3 separate regions of the Homo sapiens genome follow, and all the other regions are linked to region 3. Evidence: promoter capture Hi-C in 16 types of primary human blood cells and fetal thymus (Javierre and others, 2016). All regions are on one chromosome and are shown on one strand. Each heading gives the region's core, a stretch centred on a gene start or on the middle of the fragment in contact. The rest is flanking DNA. Distances are from core to core; before and after follow the strand shown. Region 1 overlaps SPTBN2 (spectrin beta, non-erythrocytic 2). Region 2 holds the start of ANKRD13D (ankyrin repeat domain 13D). Region 3 holds the start of PC (pyruvate carboxylase).

Region 1 (3,951 bases), core at 212-2,711, 270 kb before region 3:
TAGGCTTCAGACAAGGATACCCTAACTATGGTCCATATTTCTGTACGACTGAGGGTCCAAGCCCCCAAACTGTCGGGGGGGTGGATCATACTCCGTTTTGTTGAATTCTGTTGAAAAGTGTGAGTGATAATTTCCTGTTTGCCCTTGTCTCAGCTCAGCTTCATGTCCCCTTTCTGTACAATTCTTCAAATTGTGTGTGTGTGTATGTATTTAGAGATGATAGGGTCTTGCTCTGGAGTGCACTAGCGCAATCACTGCAGTGTCGACCTCCCAGGCTCAAGAGATCCTCCCACCTCAGCCTCCTAAGTAGTTGGGCCTACAGGCATGCACGGCTGTGCCTGGCTAATAAAAAAAAATTTTTTTTGTAGAGATGGGGGGTCTCACTATGTTGCCCAGGCTGGTCTTGAACTCCTGGACTCAAGCAATCCTCCCATCTCAGCCTCCCAAGGTGCTAGGATTACAGGTGTGAGCCTATGCCCGGCCTCTTCAAATCATATACCTCAAAACCAGGAGGACAGTGCCTGCTCAGCCTGGTCTTGCCCCTTAGCCCCTCAGTGCTCTGCCTGGGACTAGGTCCTAGTCTCCCTGTGGGTCCTCCACTCTTCCCACGGTTGATCTGAGCTGGGTGCCCTCCCTACACTCACAGTCACATGCTCGTAGTCCTGGCCCAGCTCGTGGGAGGCCGCCACCACCTCGCGCTCCTGGATCCACTGTTCCAGGTCATCCAGCTCGCGGCGGAGCTGGCACAGCCGGAGGTGCTCCTGCAGGCGCTCCCGCCGCTCTCCAGCCAGCTCCTTCAGGCCGGCATACAGCTTGTCCACCTGGGCTTGGCGGATGGATATCCGAGTGCTGCAAGAAGAGTGAGGGAGGCACTGTGGGACTTAGGGGTGTAGCTCTGACCTCCGGTCTGTTCTGTGGAGCCCTGTCCCTCTGAGTCTCCCAACAGCTCGCCCACCCTGTGTTCCAGCTTTCTAGAAGGCTCCGTGCACACAGCACTGAAGGCTCCACATTCCCTGCACCTTCCTGTTCCTGCAGCCGGCTCCACCCCCAGGCTGGGCCGGGCTGCCGCTGCACCCACCTCTCTGGGTGCTCGTGGTCAATCATGTCCTGGCTGCTGGCCGCCAGCTGGTGGATGGTCTGCGCGTAGTCGGCCAGGGCTTGCTCCAGCACCTGGTGCTTCTTCACCTCTGCCTGGGCACTCAGCTCATCCTGGGGGAAGGGACAGTGGCATCCAGCATCAGGTCAGGGGAGGGCAGAACTGGTCACATACACTGGGCTCTGTCCTGGCCCTCACCTTGGCCTTCTCCTGGCCCATCATGTGTAATTCCTGCTCGCCCATCCAGGCCTCCGCCTCGGCGGCATCGCGGTAGAACTGCTGGGCTCGCAGGGCATCCTCCAGTCGCTTCCCTCGAAGTTCCAGCTCGTGGCCCAGGCGTTTCCACATTTCCTGCAGCTCAGCCAGCTCTGGACCTGCTGCTGCTGCACCTAGAGCACGCTGCCGCTCCCTCAGGTCCGCGATCCGGGGCTCATGGCCCTGAATCTCTTTCTGCAGGGTCTGCCCATGGCCACAGAAGAGAAAATGCTGAAAGTCCTGCCCCAGCCCCACGTGCTCCCGGAGACCACCCTTCACCCCTGTGCCTCTCTCCTTCCTGGGTCCTCTGCTCCCTCTCCTAGCCTGGGGGTGCGATGGTAACACCCGTCAGCCGCCCAGCCCCCACTATCTCCTACTGAGAGGACCCACCCTCCCAAGGTGAGGAAAGACAGCCACTGAAGTCCAGGGTTACACTCAGCATCGAGGGGGGCCTGGTCTTAAGAAAAAACACGTCCAAGTCTGGGCAGGCTCCTGGGAACTTCTCTTTTGCCTTCAGCCTCTGCCTCACCTGGTTTTTCTTCATGAGAAGCTGGACGCTGGGCAGGTCCTTGCCATGCTCCATGGAGCTGGCCATGGGCAGCCGCTCTGTCACCCACAACTGGAAGAGGAAGAGGGGGTCAGTGGAGGCCCAGAGGGCAAGGCAAGCAGCAGGGACTGATTAGTGGGAGTGGGGACACCTGGGGCTACCGCCCTGTGTGTGGGGAACAGTCATCTCTGGTTCTGGGAGGCATCTCCAAGTCTCCCTATAGGGGAGATGGTCAATGCCAAAGAGAAGAGGGAATAGAGCCCTGCTGGCATCTCCCTGGCATCCAGGAGGGAGGCTGGAGAACCACATGGCTGGGGGCAGCTTGCCGTCCTTGGCCCCAGTGACTCACAATCTCATCTTCCACATCGCGGTGGAACTGGTGCTGCTCGCGAGAAGCCTGCAGGCGCCGGCAGCGTTCCCGCATGGGCTGGCACAAGGCCCTGAACTTCTCCTCCACGGCCCTCGAGGTTCTCTCCACCTCCCCTGCACCCTGGTCCTCCTGGGCCAGTGCTTTGGCCTGGGCCTGGATTGCCTCCACCTCCTTCTCTCTCACAGCCATCTCCCATTCCAGCATCTGCAAACCGCCAGGAGGAAGGACATGTTAGCTCTGCATTTCCGCCTTCATGCCCAGCAGAGACACCAACCAGTCTCTATCCAGCCCACTGTGGCTGCTCATCACTGCAGCTCACCCAGGGAGAGCATCCCCTCATGGGCTGGATCAGTGGATCTCGAACTTTATATGCACAAGAATCCAAGGGCAGGGGTTGAAAAAATCCCTATTGGGTACTGTGCTCACTACATGGGTGATGGGTTCAATTACACCCCAAACTTCAGCATCACACAATATAACTTATAACAAACCTGCACCCACACCCGCGAATCTAAAAGATTGAAATTAAAAAATCCAGGGTAGTGTGATAACTGTGCCCATTATCAATTCATTGTCTCTCCATCCCCAATCCATCGTGGCCCTGCTTTGAGACACTGGAACTGGCCCCTGGAAACATTCCTCCTTTGCCAGCAGGCACAATCTAGGCCTTGTCAGCAGAGGGCGCTGGAGGGACACCACAATGCCTAGCAGATGTGGGGCATTCCACGGTTCCAAGGTGCTTTTCTTCCTCCTACAGCAAAACTGTCCACAGTGCGCAAGAGATCCGGTGGCTCTTACTCTCTGGCAAGTTTTGCTGCACTCTAGTGGCCACTTCCTGCTGGCCAGCCTTGGCTTGCTGGCTTCAGACATGCTCTGGCCTGTGATACCCCAGCAAATTTCCAGGCCATTCAGTGGGCCTCCGCCCTCTCCAAGGAGGTCTGAGACTCAGCCATCTTGCTCCTTCCTGGGGGACTCCTCAACCCCAGAGGTGTCAGCTGCTCCCTACACTTCCCATTCTGCATTCTTCAGAGCAGGGACCAGCAAGTCCAGCCCACTGCCTAGCCTTATAAAGTTTTTATTGGACCACAGCTGCACCCCTTTTTAAAAAATTTTTTGAGACAAGTCTCGCTCTGCCACCCAGGCTGCAGTGCAGTGGCACGATCACAGCCCACTGCAGCCTCGACTCTCCAGGCTCAAACAATCTTCTCACCTCAGCCTCCTGAGTAGCTGGGACTACAGGCACACACCACCACCACGCCCAGCTAATTTTTGTAGTTTTTGTAGAGATGGGGTTTTGCCATGTTGCCCAGGCTAGTCTCAAAACTCCTGGACTCAAGTGATCCGGCCACCTCGGCCTCCCAAAGTGTTGGGATTACATGTGTGAGCCACCACACCTGGCCATACCCCTTATTTTACATATAATCCGCAGCTGCTTTTCCTTACAAGGGCAGAGTTGAAGGGCTGTGACATAGACCTTACGACCCATGAAGCCCCAAAAATTTACTATCTGGTGCTTTACTGAAAAAAGTTTTCTGACCCCTGCTATAGAGTTCTCTTTACCACCTTTTACTAATTTATACTTCTGTTTTTTTTTTTGAGACAGAGGCTTGCCCAGGCTGGAGTGCGATGGCATGATCACGGCTCACTGCAACCTCTGTCTCCTGGGTTCAAGCTATCCTCCTC
Region 2 (3,545 bases), core at 447-2,946, 330 kb after region 3:
CCTGGTTACTGAGTACAGGATGTGGGGAGGGAGGTGAAGGACAGGAGGCAGGGAGACAAACCTCCGCAGTGGGAGAGGAAGAGATGAAAAGAGGCCAGACGGGAAGAACGTGGTCCAGCAGAAACAGGCTGGACTTGGGGCTGAGTGAGGCGGGAGTCTGGGGAAGAGGGTAGGTGTGGTTGGGTTGGCTTCGGACATACTGATGGGATAGCATGGGATCCCTGGGCACAGAGATGTCCTGGAGTAAGCTGAAATGTGGACCTGGGGGTGGCATCAGGGTGACAATGGGAACGGACAGTCTCTCTCCCAGGGATGTGGGGGTCAGGGAGAGAGAGGAGGCCGTGGAAGAGGGTTGAGAAGGCACTGTCATGGAATTAAGTGCCAGTGGGGAGCTGTGTTCAAGATGGCAGAAATCAGGAGAGGCTGGAACCAAGAAAGTCCTGTCGGGGTTGAGTTTGGAGAGGGCTCAGGGAAGGGACCGCCTCTGAGAAAAGGGGTGGCCAGGGAGGGCTGCAGTAGTGGTGAGCAGGTGAGCTCTGGGCATTCAGAAGCCTTCGGGCTGCTACCAACCCCAGGACCTCACAGATTGACACCATAGCGTGGGGTGGCAAAGTGACCCCAGATGGCACAGGCGCCATGTGACTACAGGGAGAAGGCAGGGTAAAAATGGCAATCAGGCCTTCCAGCCCAGAGTCTCAGAACTGAGGACGCCCTACAGCAGGAAGTGATGCTCAAGCTAGCTGGCCCTCCTCAATCATGTTCCACGTAGGGAAAGGGAGAATAGAGGGTCAGCCTTGGCCACCTAGCAAAACCAGGGCCCCAGACCCCAGGCTGGGCCTCCAGTAATCAAGGGCCGGAACTGAGCTGACGGAGGCCTGCACCCTAGTTCCGGTGTGGGTGGAGGGGCCGGCCCTGATTTCGAAACTCGCCTTCCTCTCCTGACGCTGGCAGCCAACCGCAGCCTCTGCAAAAGGGACTCGTGCGGCGGGCGAAGGCAGCCGTTCGCCGCGGGCGGTCCTCCGCCGGGACGGCTCTGCCGCTGCCTGGGCCTGCGCCCCTCTCTCCCCGAACTCCTATCCCTGACTTCAGGGCCCCGGGGGCCGCCTCCCCGCATCGCTGGGCCTGCAGACACCGGCCAGGTCCCAGGGGAAGGTGCTTCCCGCTCAGCCGGCAAGCACTTAGTGGCGTCTGCTCGTTGCTCGTCTCCAGGCCGGGTGAGGGGAGCCGGGGCGCCCCACTTCACCCGCACACCCCAGCAGAGTCGGTGACCGCGGGACCTGGGGTAGGAAGACCGGGGCGAGCAAGGGGATCCGCGGGGGAAACGCAGGCATCACGGCTGCAGCAGGACCGCGGCCCGCCGCGCACGCGCGTGCACTACCGAGGGGCCCAGTGCCCGCCCCCTCCGGCCCCGCCTTCCTCTTCCGGACCCGGCTCCGGGGGTCTGCGCAGGGCTCGGGGCGCCTCCTGCGGGCCGCGGGCGGAGCTGTAACCGGGCACCGCCCTCCAGGCCGCCCCAGCGGACCCGGGCCCGACCGAGGTCGGGGCGCAGACCCAAGGCCGGGCATCTCCTCGGGCGCTCGCGGTTGCTCTGCCGCGCGCTGGCCTGGCCGCGGTTGCCATGGTTGCGGGGGGACGGGGGCGCGCGCGAAGCCCCGCCCCGGCCCGGCGCAGCCCCGCCCGCTCCGCCGCCCGCCCCGCCCTCCCTGCCGCCCGCGCTGCCGCCGCCGCCGCCGCCGCCGCTACTGCTGCGGGGGCCGCGGGGGGCGCAGCTGGGGCGCGGCTCGGAGGGGAGGCTAGGGGGCCGTGCCAGGCCCGAAGCCGAGGCGGGGCCGGGATGCGGCGCTGAGGCCCAGCATGGCCGGCCCGGGCCCCACCTTCCCGCTGCACCGGCTCGTCTGGGCGAACCGGCATCGCGAACTGGAGGCCGCACTGCACAGCCACCAGGTGAGGCCCCGCTGGGGCACCCGGCCCTTCCCCCGGGTCCCCCACCCAAGGCTGTGGCCTCCGTCCTGGAGCCCCCCCCCCCCCCCCGCCCGCTCAGCTCCGCAGCCACATCCTGGGCCTTCCTCCCCTGCACGATCCCAAGCCCAGGTCACCGGCCCCTCGCGCCTGAGCCTCTGGCCTCCTCTCCCCTGCGCTGGGCCTTGCCCTGCTCGCCCGAACTCGCTTCCGCATCCTTGCTGACCCAAGCTGAGAACAAGAACTCTGGTCCTGGTCCCCAGGTTCCGCCAAACTCCTGACAACCTGCAGCTCTGCCTGACCAGGCCCCGCCGCCAGACCCCGGCTCTGCCCCTGCCTTCCCTCCTGCCCCCTCCTCTCCCCTGCCAGGACACGCAGGCCACCCTCTGCCATCTCCCTGGTCAGTCCGCCGTCCTTATTTCCCACAGCGATTCCCAACCCTGCTCGCCCTGGCAGCCTCCCTGCCTTGCCCTCTTCTCTCCTGCCCTTTGTGAGTGTCCCGTCTCCCCCAGCACGACATTGAACAGGAGGACCCCCGCGGGCGGACCCCACTGGAGCTGGCCGTGTCTCTGGGAAACCTGGAGTCTGTGAGAGTGCTCCTTCGACACAATGCCAACGTGGGCAAAGAGAACCGCCAGGGCTGGGCAGGTACTGCAGAGGACAAGGGGCTCCCCCTGAGGCTGGCAGGCGGGGGGCAGTGAGCAGCCAGGCCTGGGGTCATCTGGAGGGCTCCCCTCAGCAGCCTGGTGCCCGCAGTCCTGCAGGAGGCAGTCAGCACTGGAGACCCCGAGATGGTGCAGCTGGTGCTCCAGTATCGGGACTACCAGAGGGCCACGCAGAGGCTGGCGGGCATTCCGGAACTGCTCAACAAACTTCGCCAGGTACAGCAGGGCACAGTTATGGAGGTGGGGTACCATGGCAGGGCACCACCCTGGTTACTGTGCCAGGCCTGGCCTTGGAAAGGCACCCAGTTTGTGCAGTGTGCCTCCTGCCACCAGCAAGGAGGTCTGTCTATCTTGACCCCAGCCCAGGGTCACGTAGGAAAGAGAGACGGCCAGGCTCACGTGGGAGAGACTGGACCCTTTGGAAGAGAAGCCTTGCCAGCTTTGGGCCTCCTGAAGAATGCAGATTACCTGGAGCAGGGACTTCAGGTTGACTCGGTGGATTATGGCCTGAAACCCTGGAATACTTGCTACTACGCACCCTTCTGGAAGCACACGGAGGGGCCTGGCTGGCAGAGCATACTATCTCATACCCCCTACCCCAGGAGCAGGCTCGGAGGGAGCCACTGTGCCCCCTTTACAGAGTAGGACTCTGAGACCCAGTGGAAACAAAGGCTCCCCCAGGGCTCTGCACAGGCTCATGGCCAGGTTGAGGCTGGCCCTCCACCTCCAGGTGCTTACAGCCTCATTGTCTGAAGACCACTGTAGTGCCCCACTTGGCCCACCCTCTCCAGGGCAGAGTGGTTGGGCGTAGCTGAGCCATAGCAGTGCGTCAAGACTTGATGAAGGGCCAGGCGTTGTGGCTTACTCCTGTAATCCCAGCGCTTTCTGAGGCCAAAGTGGGCGGATCACTTGAGCCCAGGA
Region 3 (4,025 bases), core at 712-3,211:
TAAAAATACAAAAAATAGCCAGGTGTGGTGGCATGCGCCTGTAATCCCAGCTACTCAGGATGCTGAGGCAGGAGAATCGCTTGAACTCGGGAGGCGGAGGTTGTGGTGAGCTGAGATCACACCGCTGCACTCCAGCCTGGGCGACAAGAGCGAAACTCCATCTCAAAAAACAAAAACAAAAAAACCTCTTTAACAAAACCTCTCCAGAATAAAACTTTCTAGCTGCTGAAATCCAATCACTGTTTCTCCACTGCAGCGGCATCAAAAAGAGGTCCACAACTCACCTCCTCCACGAAGCCTTCCCAAGCCCATCCCCTTCCAGGCCATTTCTCCTCTCTCTCGCTTTAGTGTGTGGTTTGCTGTGATTTACTGGCCTCTACTGAACTTCCTCTTCCATGTCCTCCTAGGGCCAATACCTCACCCACTAGGCTCTCTACAAACATCTGCAGCAGGCTGCCTTGCTGCTTAGGTTTTGTTTATTTTCTCTCTCCCCCAATGGGTTTGTCAGCAGTTGCAGGACAAGGATTGACCTCATCGCCCACGCTGTCTCTCGGCCCAGTGTAGGGATAGGAACACTGTAGGTGTGCAAAAGAATGTGATTAAGAGTTCAACAGTTAAGGAGAGCCTGCAGGCAGGAAGCTGTAGCTGCAAGTGAGAGAAATGCTGAGCACATCCACCCCCAGCACAAGTGTTTGCATCACATACAGGGAAAGGGTGCCTTGGGGGAGGCCAGCCAGGGCTGATGGTGGCAGTGGGTACGGGAGCAATAGGGAGGCAGATGGCAGGCACTCTGGAGGTTCTGGTTGTCATCAGCAAGTGTTGGTACTTCTCTGAGCCTGTTTTCTCAGCTGGAGAACGGGTAAGGAGCCCAGGCCTACCTCTTCTCACAAAATAAAGACACAATCTGATTTTTTAGAATTTCAGACGAGGCACGCCTGTAATCTCAGCACTTTGGGAAGCCAGGGCAGGCCGCTCGCTTGAGCGTAGGAGTTCGAGACCAGCCTGGGCAACATGACGGAACCTCGTCTCTACCAAAAAATACAAAAATTAGCTAGGCGTGGTGGCGCCCGCCTGTAGTCCCAGCACTGGGGGACTGTGGCAGGAGGGTCGCTTGAGCCCGGGAGGTCGAGACTGCAGTGAGCCGAGATCGCGCCACTGCACTCCAGCCTGGGTGGGTGACAGCAAGACCCTGTCTAAAAAAGAAAAGAAAACAAAAGAATCTCAAAGTTGCCAGGGACCTAGGGACTTGGCTTCCGACTCTGATGCGCTTTGTAAACTACTAAAAGCTGGAGAAATAAGGGGCTGAGCCCAGCCCCACCTCCTGAATGAGCGGCCTTGGGCGAATCACTGCGTCTGGGCGCCTGGAGCTTCCCCGTCTGAAACAAAGTAGAGGATCCTACGGGAGGCGGAGTGCGAGAGCAAGGAACAAGGAAAGCCCTCGCCTTACACGCCGCGGCTTCCTGCAGAGCTGAGCCACATCCAGTACGATGGGGACAACTTGGGCTCCCGATCCTGACAGACTTGGGTTCGAACCCTCAGGGACCTCGCGCGAGGCGCTTTAGTCAGTTTCTCCATCTGCAAAATGGGCCCGAGAGCAAGAATGAGGCAGCCCGCAGGCGGACGCTGCGGAGGGGCGCTCGGGGGCTGCAGCCGGGGGCGGGTCCGGGGGCGGGTCCAGCCGGCCGAGCCCCCGCGCGAGGGGGAGGGGCGCCGTCCGCTGCGTCGCGTCGCGCACCGCGCACAGCCCGTCGCTGTCTCCTCCAGCCGTCACTCGCGGAGCCCGCGCCGCCTTTGCGCGCGCGACCCTTACATAAGCGTCCCTCGCAGCGGTGCCGGCGCACGTCCACCCGCTCCGACCCGCCGCGGGAAGAGGACCGTGCGGAGCGCGGCGGACACTCACCTCCTCGCCGTCGCCAGTCCTCGCCGCCGCCTCTACCGCTGCTGCCTCCACTGACAGAGAACAGCTGCGGTCTCCGTGCAACCGAACTTGCTGCAGTCCCGGCCCCGCCTTACGGACTTCCTATTGGCCCAGACAGCCCAACCCCTCCCGTTATTGGGCAGTGTTCTCCGTCACTCCTCGCCCCTAGGCTCTGGACTCCTCCCTGTGCCCGCCTGTCCGTCACGTTTAAGCCTTGGCGCCCCACGTCAGCCCCGCCCCTCCCGTCCCCGGCGAGCGCCTGGATAAGTGGCGAGGCTGGGAGAGCCCGCCCCTGGCGCACCACCGCCTACTCCCTTGTCTCCGGAGCCTCACGTGGGCCGCCGGACCCTAGCCGACGCCCGCAATAGGCGGAAGTGGCCGGGCTGTGGCTCGCAGTTATTGGCTGTCGGCGGGGGTGGGGACGTTCGATTCATTCACCCGAGTAGCACGTGTCTCCCGAAGCTGCAAGCACAACAGTTCGCACTGGGGCTCAGGCATCCCGGCTAGACGCAGATACGCGCTGGCTAGCGGAGAAGAGGTCGCAGGAAAAGCTAACGTTAGCGAAGGGCAGGAGGAAGGAGAAGGCGCTTGTGCCACACGGGTTACATGACTATGTCCTTTAACAGCTGCGTAGATGATGATGGGGGTCTACAGTACGTCTGTGTGACCTTGGGCAAGCAACTTAACCTCTGAGTCTCGGTTTTGTCATCTGCAGAGCGAAGCTACTCAGGACCTAGGGGGTTTGGAAGCCTTGTTTGAGACACAAGACACTTGACAAGACCCAAGACACTTGTCAAAGAGGAAAGCTTTGACAAGTGGAACAAGTGACTGAGGCATAAGTCTCTGTCATCGAGGCTTATTAATCCAGTTTGAGGGCGTGCTCGGGAAAAACACGAACCACAGACACATCCGTGGTTGTTTTTCCGAAGAGGTTTTCGGGAGGTTTAGTATTTATGCATTTCCTTAAAGGGGGAATGAGGGGAAGGCATGTAGGAAGAAGGGCAAGTAGGCGATTAGGACAATAGTTACATTCCTATGGGACTTTAGCTAATGCCCGGTAAATCTACGTAAGATGAGATGAATGTCTGAAGAGAAAAAGAGAGTAAAGGAAGAGTCAGTTATGCAGATGTCTCTGAGTAGGTAGTTTTGACTTTGTTCTGCACCTGGGAAAATAAGCTTGTAATGACATTCTTATTGTGGAATTTTTAGGAGCTAGACTTAGATTGTAGACCTGAAGCTACAATTGACCTGTCCTTGTTTATGGGAGGCCAGCAAGAATTTACTTGTGAATGATCTGTGGGGGCAGCCCTTCCCAAATGCCTGAGGTTTTTACCTTTCCGTGTGGATATGGCTGATGCCTAATGCTAGTAACAGCTATTCTTTTGGAAGAGGGTGTTGCAGTGACTCAGCTTCAAGGCTTAATCTTCACTTTCGCATGAATTGGGGCGCTGGGGGGGGGTCCCGAGATTTTTACTTTCATTCACCGCTGCGTAAACTGGGGTCTGTGCCAACCAGGGGATAAGGGAGTGACCAAACAAACCAAAATCCTGCCTTCAAAGGAGAGCAGACAGATTAATATATATATATATATATATATTTTTTTTTTTTTTTTTTTGAGACGGAGTCTCGCTCTGTCGCCCAGGCCGGACTGCGGACTGCAGTGGCGCAATCTCGGCTCACTGCAAGCTCCGCTTCCCGGGTTCACGCCATTCTCCTGCCTCAGCCTCCTGAGTAGCTGGGACTACAGGCGCCCGCCACCGCGCCCGGCTAATTTTTTGTATTTTTAGTAGAGACGGGGTTTCACCTTGTTAGCCAGGATGGTCTCGATCTCCTGACCTCATGATCCACCCGCCTCGGCCTCCCAAAGTGCTGGGATTATAGGCGTGAGCCACCGCGCCCGGCCCAGATTAATACATAGTACATCAGATGGTGATAAGGGCAAAGAGAAAAAATAACCTGCTTCCAAAAAGGAGAATCAAAGACTATGAGAACATCTTGCTAACTAGAAATTGTTTATTGAGCCTGGAGAGATCTGACTCTTCTCTCAGACTTCTTGTATAAGTAGTTTCTCACTCCAACTTCCCTGTCATTCCTTCTACCCGTCCTG

Evidence for each region. Contacts are between HindIII fragments. The CHiCAGO score rates a contact against its expected background, and 5 or more counts as called.
Region 1: a contact is called between a fragment that was not itself captured here and the fragment with the promoter of PC in region 3, in 1 of 17 cell types (endothelial precursors). The highest score is 6.0, in endothelial precursors.
Region 2: a contact is called between the fragment with the promoter of ANKRD13D here and the fragment with the promoter of PC in region 3, in 8 of 17 cell types (fetal thymus, erythroblasts, total B cells and 5 more). The highest score is 9.8, in fetal thymus.

Annotation. Positions count from the first base shown.
Region 1 is chr11:66,691,892-66,695,842 of GRCh38, forward strand. SPTBN2 (spectrin beta, non-erythrocytic 2) reads right to left here. Exons shown (of 38, transcript NM_006946.4): 22 at 2,248-2,472; 23 at 1,881-1,970; 24 at 1,295-1,555; 25 at 1,079-1,209; 26 at 645-849. Among named protein-coding and RNA genes, the nearest start is that of RBM4B, 16 kb to the left of the region's middle. RefSeq lists an enhancer at 2,926-3,426. The HindIII fragment of the contact is 9,386 bases long and covers 1-3,951 here.
Region 2 is chr11:67,287,607-67,291,151 of GRCh38, forward strand. It overlaps ANKRD13D (ankyrin repeat domain 13D), which reads left to right and starts at 1,697. Exons shown (of 15, transcript NM_207354.3): 1 at 1,697-1,944; 2 at 2,472-2,607; 3 at 2,716-2,840. The coding sequence starts at 1,855. RefSeq lists enhancers at 603-812, 2,047-2,971, 2,972-3,545 and silencers at 1,033-1,102, 1,283-2,052. The HindIII fragment of the contact is 22,420 bases long and covers 1-3,545 here.
Region 3 is chr11:66,956,422-66,960,446 of GRCh38, forward strand. PC (pyruvate carboxylase) reads right to left here and starts at 1,962. Exons shown (of 23, transcript NM_001040716.2): 1 at 1,901-1,962. RefSeq lists enhancers at 377-756, 1,920-1,969 and silencers at 1,620-1,719, 2,040-2,399. The HindIII fragment of the contact is 4,821 bases long and covers 1-2,722 here.